Linked DNA regions of Homo sapiens: region 2 is linked to region 1. The links are contacts of gene promoters, found by promoter capture Hi-C in blood cells and fetal thymus (Javierre and others, 2016). All regions are on one chromosome and are shown on one strand. Each heading gives the region's core, a stretch centred on a gene start or on the middle of the fragment in contact. The rest is flanking DNA. Distances are from core to core; before and after follow the strand shown. Region 1 holds the start of PPP1R9A (protein phosphatase 1 regulatory subunit 9A). Region 2 has its middle 52 kb from the start of COL1A2.

The links. The method cuts DNA at HindIII sites, captures the fragments that hold promoters and counts their contacts. A CHiCAGO score of 5 or more calls a contact.
Region 2: a contact is called between a fragment that was not itself captured here and the fragment with the promoter of PPP1R9A in region 1, in 1 of 17 cell types (M2 macrophages). The highest score is 5.3, in M2 macrophages.

The regions. Positions count from the first base shown.
Region 1 is chr7:94,904,016-94,910,172 of GRCh38, forward strand. It overlaps PPP1R9A (protein phosphatase 1 regulatory subunit 9A), which reads left to right and starts at 3,579. Exons shown (of 20, transcript NM_001166160.2): 1 at 3,579-3,687; 2 at 5,883-6,157. The coding sequence starts at 6,099. RefSeq lists an enhancer at 3,636-4,396. The HindIII fragment of the contact is 9,522 bases long and covers 1-6,157 here.
Region 2 is chr7:94,443,846-94,449,425 of GRCh38, forward strand. No RefSeq gene overlaps it. Among named protein-coding and RNA genes, the nearest start is that of COL1A2, 52 kb to the left of the region's middle. The HindIII fragment of the contact is 2,249 bases long and covers 296-2,544 here.

The DNA.
Region 1 (6,157 bases), core at 2,329-4,828:
AGACAGAAAACCACAACTAGAGTCCTGCTAGAGGGGCTAATCTGTTGAAAGAAAAATGAGCTTCTGTAGAAACAAATAAATGCCTCATACTTGTCTTTAAAAGTGTAACATGCACCACTACAAAACTGAAAACTAATGGTTATAGCAGCTGTTGTTTCAACCTCAGAAGCTGTGACAGCAATGAAAACATTATACCAATGTCTGGTCCAATAAAACTCTTGGTTTCCTGTGTTTTGTGTGGGTGGACAAAGTAATAATAGCAAAGAAAGAGAAGTTGTATCACTTTAGCCTAAACACACTGTGTAAATTTGTTGTTGTTTATTTGTAGAGATAAGATATTAGTAACTTAAAAATGACCTAAAGGAATCCCGAAGAGTTCTACAGTTCATTACTCATGGCAAGTAAAACTAAATACTCAACCTTATGAACTTTTAAAGCTGAAAATCCAAGATACTTGTAGAATGGGAAATGGACAGAGATGATGGTTTAAATTTTCAGTGGCATGTCCAAGCCATGAGTGTAGGTAGAAAGCCATGCTGAATCATTATCAATTTATTGGGGTAGAAATGACACCTTTAATGTTAATTTTATAGCTAACATCACAAAATAAGACTGATCATAGATATCTTTGAATCTGAATGTGAGCCTGAGGACTATTTTAGAGAAGTATATTCTACCTCTATGATGGAGTTTGTGTGAAATATTATAAGACTCAAAAGTAAACTTAAACTTTTATCCTCAAATACAGATATTTATTTTAAAGAGACCTTTAAGAAAATTGAATATCAACATTCAAGACTGAAGTCAACAAAGCATTCTGTGATACTTACAAATGTGAAATAAGTAGTTATAATTAAACTTTTAATTAAAAAGCTGCCTCGTCACTATCAAAACATTATGCATATCGGTAAGAAAACAGTGGTATGAATAACATGTCCTTTTACGCTACAATTATGTGTAAAATTACCTACTGAAATTGCTCTCCCATTACTTTGCCTTCTCCATAAAGAAGTTAAGTCTAGAGACCTTTTAGTTTGTTCTGGTCTTTTCTCTCCCTTCAGGAACTTCCATTAGTACACAACCAGCTAGGTATCTTCCTGTTAGAAATGAAAGTGTGATGGGCAGTCTTTAGTACCAGCTTAGCCAGTTTTCCCTAGTCTTAAAATTTGATTCAGGCTTAGTTTGGGCTTAATTTCACAGCTGCACCCAATGATTCACATACACACATGAATAACTTAATTCTTTGAATAGTTCTTAGAATGTCCATCACGAAAACTTAAAAATACATTGAGAAAACCCCTAAAACAATATAGAATATACTTTGTACTTTTTGTTTATCCTCTAACCTTGTGACCACATGGTTAATACTAATCATGGTATTATTGGTTGCAAAGGAAATGAAAATAACAGCCCACAATATTCTATATAATTTATGAAAGGTTAAGGTATCATATATGAAAACTGAGAACTCCCCCACCCCAAACACATTTTGGATTTTTTGCATGTCAGTAATGAAGTTCACTTTTCACCACCTTTCCAGTTGGAACATATAAAATGTATGACCTCTAATGCCTAATACATTAATGATCTATTGAACTAAGTTAACCCTTATAAAGTTCATAGAAGTGAAAATGTGGTCTAGAACAACACTGTTTGATAGAACTTTCTGTGATGGAAATGTTGCGTATCTACACTGTGCAACAGAGTGGCCACTAGGCACATGTAGCCATCAAGCCTTTCAAATGCGGCTTGTGTGACTAAGGAACTGAATTTTAAATTGTATTTAATTTTAATTAAAGTTAAATAGCCGCATGTATTGGATTAGCAGTCTAATAGACCCTTCAAACATTCAAGTAAGTGTTGGAAATGGAAGGTCCATTATAGGAAATCTAGGAATCTTAAATTCTCACCATCGGGTTTAAAACTCTATCATTCCTTCAGTATGAACTTTTCCAGAAGTTTCAGATTTTCAAAAGATAAAACTCAAACCAACCAAATCCTTTAGGGTGCTTTTCTGTATGAATCATCTTTCTGCAAAGAGGTGTAAGACTGTCTTTATTGCCAACTCTGCCCCCTCTTCTACAGACAGAACTCAGTGATTAGATTCTGCATTTATTTAGGTTATTCGCCTAAAAAACCTGGTTTCCATACTGCAAATAAATGACAGGAACTTTTCCACTAGATTATCCCAGACAGCAGAAATGTTCTTTCCAAAAGTGGAGCCTGGAACCACAGCCCCCTCACATTGCCTGTTACATCTGTTTATGCTTATAGAAGTGACATCCACTTCGTAGACAGAGAATGCCAATTTCTTGGGAAAGGACCCAGAATTTGGTGATGCTTAAAGGAAAAAAAAGCCCTTGCTGCTTAAAATTAAAAAATACATAGAACTGAGTATTGAGTAGTTACAAAATCCTTCTGAAATGAAAAGATTTTGCTCCCAGAGTATATAGAATTTGTGTACGGACTTGCCTGGGTTCATATTCAGCCATAATCATTTACTATTAATAGCCAATAAAGAAGCGGGTAAGTTACAAAACCTAAACCTTAGTTTTTCCATCAGTGAAATGGGGCTAAAAATAGTTATGTTGGGAAAACTTGTGAAAGACTTTGAAATGAGCAAAAGATTACTGTTTGTCCTTTCAATGGAATGCTGGATGTTATCTACAGGACTCCGGAGTGTTGTGAAATTTACAGTCGTCTGCACCTTACTTAGACTGACTTTCACTAGGCTATTTTACTACTCAGTAAGCTGTAGAAACGTTTGGTAATGTAAATGAGTTTTATCTACAGAATGCAAATTTGTTACTTTACAGATACAACTGGTTACCGCCCTGTAAAGCAGATAATAATAAACATTACATTTCAGTGCTCTATAGAATAGTAAGCAGATTTGCCTCTTCTTGCCTCTATGTCTACTCTTCACAGTCTCACGTGAATGGGTTGCAGTATCTTGCTGGGGTTCCCTTCCTAATTAAAAGAGTTATAAAAATTTTGACCAATGTTCATTTTATATTTCTACCATTGTCATGTTTTTACCTTCTTGAAAAATTATTTTTTAAGAGTTCCTGCTCCCTAGGCTTTTTGGAAGGATTGGTTTAAACATCTGTATTGACAGTCATGATCAGTTTTATATCTTGCAGGAAGGTGGTAACACTTCCGGTACTTGGGGGTGTAAGAGGTTGTACTGAGCCTTTAGAAAAGGGCGGGGTTCGGGGGGGAGTGAGCTGAAAAACTCTCCCTAGACAGGAAAGGTAGAAGACCTCCTCATCCCTTTCTCTTTGGCAGTGAGATCTTAAGGTCAAGGTGAGTAGTAGGCCAGGCGCAGTGGCTTAGGTGAAGGCCACACCAGACTTGGGCCTACGTCTTGGCCTTCCAGGTCAGCAGAGTGGCCTGGGACTTGGATGCCTTGGGGTCACGGAGTTAACTGCAGACTCAGACTAAGTGGGGCCCCAGCAGCGGTCAGCCCCAGAACCAAGTTCCGGAGCCAACACCCGAACAGGAAGGGGCCTTGCCCCAGGCCGGAGAGGCCCCTCGCCCACGGCCGAGGGGGTGGGGCGGCCTCGCCTCGGGCCGGTGCTTTTCGCCCTTCCTTGGCCGCCAGAGGCTCCCTCTCTCTCCCTCTCCCGGGATTTTGCTGCCGGGCTCCCTCTCTCTGCGGCCCTAGAGTTAATCCCATCAGCCGAGGTGAGGCACCTGTTACCCCGGCCTTCCTCACCCCCGCGGCCTCTCCTCCATTACACCGCGGCCGCCGAAACGGCCCGGCGTGGCGACCGCACGTGGGCCAAACCCCTTCCCCGGCCGGCACCCCTGGCCCCAGGCCGGCCCGAGCGTGCGGGCGCGTCGCTGCTCGGGCCGCCGCCCGCCCGCAATGGCGTTGGGGAGCGCAGCGCGCCTCCCGGGGCCGCCCGCCGCGGGCAGGGAGCGCCTGGGGGCCGACGCGCGAGTGGAAGCGGCCGCCGCAGCCGCCCTACGCGCTGCGCCGTGAGGAGCGGGTTGCGGTGTACCCAGCGGGCCGGCGCCGAGCCGAGCCGCCGCGTCCACCGTGGGGCGGGGGGCGCCTGCGAGGAGGGGGTGGGAGCCGCGGCGGCCCGACCCTCCCCGCCCGCGGCGCTCCCGCTCGGGTAAGGGGGAGGCTGAGCGCGGGGCGAGGAGTTGGGGAGGGTGGAGAGGAGGAAAAAATCGGCTTGTACAAAGGCTGAGTTGCAGGCTGGGGGTGGGGGTGGGTTGTGGTGGAGGAGCAATAGGTTGAAGATCGGAGGCATTATCAGTGGGATCTATTGTTTCCTGGCACATTGGGAGGAAAAACAAAGGGATTTATTTTCATTACCCTGTAATTTTTTTTCTTTTCTATTTTTTTAAATGTGGCCAGGGAGCTCGTCTCTCTCCGTGTCACAGTGGGATCCGCCTGGCAGCCGCCGGGAGCTGCAGCCAATGTGTTAGGACTTCAGGTGCTTCTTGGCACAAAGCTAGACTGCGACCTCCTACCATAGCGCTTGGCGTCACCTGCTCTCCCGGTCCTGCCCCAGGGCCGAGGGATTGCGTCCCGAACCGGGCTTGGGAATCGGCTGCCTCTCAAGTTGGTGTTATTTATGTTTGTCTTTTGTGAGGGCAGGTTTTGAATCCCCCGGCGGCCCCATCTCCCCCGCCCCCGCCTCCTTGGGTTGGAATTGGCGGGGGAGGGAATGGGGGGTGTGTGTAGGGGAGAGGGGAGGGTGTTTGTGGCTTTAAAAAGAATGGTCAGGGTAAAAGGAGATTGTCGATGCTTTACAAAAAAAGAAAAAAACAGGCACCACACTCCAAAGCCTTTCTTGTTTGTCTGCATGGGCCATGCATGCGTGCTGGGCCAGGAGCCGAGTTTGGAGACGGTTTAAGTGAAAGTGTGTGCCTCCTCAGCTGATTGTGCGTGAGGGTGATGTGGCTCGGTCTAATATCAAAACAAAACAAAAATAAAATGAAAAATCTTTAGAACTGCCTGCATTGTCTGCTCCTCAGCATATCTTGAAGTATTTGATTGCTGGCTTATTGATATAAAATCCTGCTGTGGGCTTAAAGAGACCAGCAAGCATGCATTGCGTTGCGTGTTGAACTGTAGTAAGTTAGAGGCAAGAAAGAATAAACAAATCAGGGCTGTGAAAAGGGGTGTCACAGTATATTTGCTTTCTGATTGTCACATTCTTACGCATTTATTCCCTTGGTAGTCTGCATCCCACTCCATAATTAATAATAACCACTGTTAGGAAACTTCCAAATACTTGTTATAACTGAACTTAGTGAAACTTATTGCTATTCAGGAACTTTTTTTCTCCTTGTTTTGATCTGAAATTGCATTAGTATTGCTTTGGGGATGCTGTAGATGAGAACATTGGACCAAAAAAAGTAAAATATGCCGCTGTAGGCATGTTTTGGAGTTTGTAAACATAGATTCCAAACTTAATTGTACTTAGAAAGAATAAGTTCTACCTAATTGTGGAGAATCCTAAATGAAGTTGATTTTCTGGACAGTTTGATGATTTCTTAAAGATCGATGAACTGCTGGTTTCTTTTTAAAGGGCATTCACAAAAGCGACCAAAACTTGGGCTAAAGTATTGCTTTCAAATATACTTATGTGTAGCTTGTATTTGTGAGTGTGTGTATGTGTTTGTGTGTGTGTGAGATTTTGATAGGTATCTCCAAATTGTGTTTGGAACTTTTTTTTTTTTTTTTTTACCAAAGACCAATCAGAATGATAACTTTTTGACTTTTAACTTCCCATTTCAATGAGTAATCTCTTCTGTTTGCCACGTGGCTAAGCCATTTGGAAAAAAAAATGTATGTTATTTGACTAGACATAAATTCAAATAAGTAAATGAATTCAGAAATTCATTCTTTTCTATTGCAGATGAACCTCTAGTCTTGCTTTGAAAAAATCATTCTGTGTAACTCTTGACTGTGACTAAGTTCCTAATACACCTGTTGGGACGATCACTGACACCGTATACCATTTGAGAGGTACTTTTCTTGACCCAATACTGGTGATTAGAGAAGAGAGGTATCTTGGTTTTTGGTTTTTTTCTTTGATCATTATGAACATTGGCTTTTCACCCCTGAAGTGAAAATGTTGAAAACTGAGTCTTCAGGTGAACGAACCACTCTCAGAAGTGCCTCTCCTCACAG
Region 2 (5,580 bases), core at 170-2,669, 460 kb before region 1:
AAAATTCATCTAAGTTAATGTGTGCAGTGATTATCCATGTAAATCATTACATACAAGTTCAAGTTTGCTTAAAAATTTTTATTTTTTACAGATATGCATAAAAATTCAGAAAGGATGTATGTAAAAATATTAATAACCATTATCTCTAGTGAGGTGATGCATATTGCCAGGGTTTTTTCTTTAATCTGTCTGCATTTTTCAAAAAAACATAAACATATATTACTTTCATTATCAGAAGAAACTAGGATTATTTTTAACTAGCATTCACAAAACATAGATGGTATATTTAAAACTAAGCTTTATTGTATTATGAATGCAGGCTACATGTAGAACAATATATAGTTTTGATGTACAATTTCTGATTCAAATGAACAAGCACTTTGTTAAATTACTGCTAAACATTACGGAAACATGAGAACACATTATGACGCAGTATGTTTCAATCAACAAAATTTTATTCGTCTCCCTTGGTAAAGCAGTGTTATTAGGGACTATTGAACAGAACACGGAGACAGCCTCCTTATATTGAACTGGTTGTTAAAATACACCTGTCAAGGAAAAAAAGGTTCTGTCTAGATATGGATTATATAAATATACATAAAAAAATCTTTAGAAAATTGCCCTAGGAGGTCCTTTCTGAGTGTTTAGACATTCCTAATCTTTCGTGCTTCCGTGATATATTGTTAAAATATCTATTACAGCAATATTTTCTCTGCTTCATTCTCAAAAGATGCAGAGATGCATTCAGGTAATGAGGGAAATTTGTTACTGAAACACATATATCACTCTAGTAAGCCTGTTTTAATGATTGAAAAAAATATATGTCTCACATAGAAGGATTTTAAAGACAGGTTAGTTGAAATGGTTCTTTGATTATGTAAAATCACTGGTGGTTGATTCATTGTGTCAGATTTGAAATGAGATTAAATTGTAAGAGTAAGTTTTAAATTCTCTGCATTAAACTGAATTAATAAATTGAGCAAAGACATGATTCAAATAGGATTGAAAGGTTCTGCTAAAACCAGACTGTTTAGGTCCATTAGCAACCAGCTAAGAAAGAATATCTTATCAGAAAACAGCGTAGGCTGTGGAAAATTAATAGTGCTAGACCCAGTCTTGGTGTAGAATTACATGGAAGGGATTAGGAAGTGAGGGGAAGGTAATTAAGTAGAAAGAACAGCCGGAAAGAACTGAAAAGCCAAAGATCAGATGGTCCTCAAGTTGAGCCCCTCACCATCTGTTGGCAATCATCAAAATTTATTTGATCTTATTGTATATTTACTCTGTGAAAGGAAAAGAATAAAACCTCATTCTAATGAATGAATAGGTGAGATCAAGGAGAATACCCATTATAACAGAGCTCATTATTATAGCAAGTAAAATCATTCCCATTGCAACATAACAAATACAATTAATATAATCTAATTGTTACATCTTTGTCCATGTCCCTAATATGAGCTTCATAAAAAGATTCTCATGTTTTCCTGGCCCTTTGTGATTTAGTTGGAGCACTTTGTTTATAATTTTGCTGTCATTGTTTATTGTATGTTTGTCTATACAATTGCTCTTATAAAATTGCTGAGTGACTGCATGCATGCATCAGGAAAAGTAGGTCAATCAGCCACTTAATGTTTCCTCTTCTAATCTGCATTAGCACCTGTGATTTCAGTATCAGCTAAAGGGGTTACTACTATTTACCCAGTTATACAAAACAGAAAATACAATTCTTTCCTCTCCTTTACCTCTGGTTCTCACATCCAATCAACTACCATATCCTCCTAAATGTTTTTCTATAGCTTTACTTCTTTAGCCTTTGTTTTTGGGGCTTCCTCCCTTCTTTTTCGGCAGTACTGCAACTTTTCACTTCAGCCTTTCACCTTAACTAGTTACTACCTGCCTCTTTTCTCGTTCCCCTCAAATCCATCTTCCATTACACAGAGAAAACACAACTCTGACCTTTCAACTCCCTGTTAAAAGATTCCTGTTTCCACAGCACTTGCAGGATAAAGTCCAAAGGCATTTGTGTAGTATGGGAAACCCTTAACCACAGTGTCCCCTGACTATTTCAGCTCTCTAACTCTTTTCTCCCATCTCACAGTTTATGCCCTCCAGCAAAACCAGAGAGTAATTTATAAAGCAACTACCAATAAATAATTAAGCAATTTTTATTATAATCAACTCATGACATGCCTCAGGGATGAGTATTTCTATTCATTCTTAGGTCTGTGCTATGCATTAGTATTTAAAAATTAGCTGCTGGGGTTTTAGACTGTGAGCCTTGCAAGGAAGGCAGACCAAACTATACAGCCAGCTATCACATGGGAGCATCTGTGCAAGACGTCTCTGCACAGCTCAGCAAGACAAGCAGATACATCATCATATCTCTGAATACATATTAGTATTGCCCACCAGTCAAGCAGTATGCAGCTTCACAGGAGAGCTGTGTATTTTCCTTTATTAAAAAATGATTGAGACTGTCATTCTTTGCCTAGTGCCATCTTTCACATACCTAGCAGCACACTTTTAACATGCCGGATATTTGAAAGCTTTATCAGAAAAGGCTGGCTGCCTCATATCAAGTGTTTAATTTAGTTCTGAAGTCTCTTGAGAAAAATGAATTGATGTCAGATTTTTAATTTTAAAGTTACATTTGCATTGCAGATGGACTATTTAACAGTTCACGTAATCAATAAATTTAATACTTCAGCACAGGACATGTTAACGAGAGACGGTAGGATCTAAATTAGTGGTTTCTTTTGAAAATTCACATCATGCTTGCTTGCTTGCTTACTTAAATCTGTTAATCATAAGAAATCACCGTCTTGTAATGAAAAAATAAATAGCTGAATGTTTCCACAAAGTAGTCAGCTTCTTGGACATGATATTCATTTCTTTTTAGGGACTAACATATCTTGATAAGTAGTAATATTCTACCCCACTCACCCCTCCCTACCAACCTTGCAAAGAATGTGCAGATCCAAACTTTTAAAACCTGTTTAAAATGCTATTTCATAACTGTGCCAAATGCTAGCGAACAAATATTTTTAAATGTATTGGGTATTGTATTAAAAGTAATTAATGGCAAAAACCGCAATTACTTTTGAACCAACCGTACAAATGGGCACTGAGCTAGTAAAAAGTGAATATTTTGTGTTTTAAAATTATTCATGTTTCTTTTTATAAACAATAAACTTGTTTTATTGAACAGCATTATACATTTTTATCAGCTTTATTGAGATATAATTGGCATAAACTGCACATATTTAATGTATACAATTTGATGTGTATGATATATATGTGTAGGCTTTATGATTTCTAGTTAAAAAGTTAGAAATGAATGAAGAAGAAAACTATCCACTATATTCACAGTACTATAATCACAATTAAAACTTTAGAACATGCCCTTCCAAGTTTTTAAAATCTATTCATATACACATACGAATAAAATAGACATGTGCTTCCATTTCTACCAAATTGTGAACAAGCTGCATATATTAGGTTGTGTTTTTTTGTGTTTTTAACTAAAGTTTTCATAAATGTTTTTTCGTATTACTAAGTATCTTTCTAAAGATAATTTTTAATGTATACATATATCACATACATTTTTATCTGTAGTGAAATAATCACAAAATGAATGATGAAGAAAATAATCACCTATAGCCACCTATAACCACTACTTAAACCATAAAAACATAACCATATAAGTAACCATGCATATAATCACTATTAAAATTCTAAAATATGTTTTAATACACATATGAATTTTAAATATATGTAATTATATATACACACACTTTCATTTTTACTAAAATATTAATCAAACTATATGTATTATTTTATACCCCGATTTTAAAGAAAATTTAATAAGCAGTTTGTATACTTGCAATTTTTTTTACAAAAAGTTTAAAAAATACAGAAATGAATGAAGCCAATTATCACCAATAACTCAAGTAATACAGATAATCACTATTTAAACTTTGGAATATATACTTCTGGACAGATATAGAAAAAACCATTTTATTATTAAATTCTATTTTTAATTTAAATTTTATATGAGCATTTTTCCATGTTATTATATATCTTCTTAAGAAATAATTTTAAGCAGCAGAATAGTTTTATAACATGAAGTACTTTTGATAACATTGGATATAATAAAATCTTTTAAATCTTGGCCAATTTTATAGCAAAACTTTTCATTTTTAAAAAACATACAATCTTTTGATTAGTATTGAAGTTAAATGTGTTTTTCAAATGCTCATAGACCATTTTAAATGATGTCTTATTTATTTTGTCCATTCTGTATGCTATAAATAATTTTTCCATTTTATCATTTCCTTTTATGGCAATTTTCATGCACATATGTTTTCCTTTATATTTTTTCTTCATAATTTTTTTCTTTGCCTTTTTGCTTAAGCTAAATATTCACTTATATGATTTTTTTTTTTTTTGTAGAGATGGAGTCTTGCTCTGTCACCCAGACTGGAGTTCAGTGGTGCGATCTCTGCTCACTGCAACCTCCACCTCTCCTGTTCAAGCAATTCTCCTGCCTCAGCCTCCTGAGTAGCTGGGACTACAAGCGCACACTGCCATGCCTGGCTAATTTCTTTTGTATTTTAGTAGAGACAGGGCTTCACCATGTTGCCCAGGCTGGTCTCAAACTCCTGAACTCAGGCAATCTGCCCGCCTCAGCCTCCCAAAGTGCTAGGATTACAGGTGTGAGCCACCATGCCCAGCCTCACTTATATGTTTTAAAGTTTATTTAATTTTGAATTTGAATTTTTAACATCTGGGATTTATTTGTTATATAATGTAAGGTGACCAAGCATCCTTGTACACGGATTTGAAATTACATCTTTATCACATAATAAATTCTTATGTATGCATTTGAATTTAAAATTTGTGCTAGTGAAGTGATGAAAGCTGCAGTTCAATCTCTAAGCTTTTGTTCCTTTTGTATCTGTTTAGTTAAATGTGGCATTGATTTAGGGTGATACTTTTTCTTTTTTAACACTCCATAAAGCACCAAAGATACATTTAAATTTATATACATACATGTAACTATTTTTCTTCTTTAGGTTTATATTTTCTTTTAAAGCAATACAAGCTTTTTGTAGGAAAAATGTAAGTAAAATTGTAAGGAAGCAGAAAAATTATTTTGATCTCTTTTAATCAACAATAACCACTGATAACACTTTGGCATATTTAGTTTTACAACTTTTTTCACTTTTTCTTCTTTGTGGAGGATACAAGAGATGTAAATAAAGGTCTTTAAATGTTTTCATAATGATGATTGTTTTATGCTTCCAGTAGAACATTAACTTGATTTGTAATAATGAAATTTTTAATCCTCCTAATGGGATTTGAAACATATTTCTTAAAGAACCTAAATGTACAAACTCATATTCTGAAAACAAAAAAACAAATGTTTTTTAAAATTACTCATTAAAATGGAAATTCTCTATTTTCACCAGTGGGTGGCAATCTCAACATATACACTGTTTGGTATTTTCGACAGAACTGTTTATTGCAAAGGGGAAAGCTACCTAAAATGTCTGACAACTGTAACTCCAGCAGCTGTTG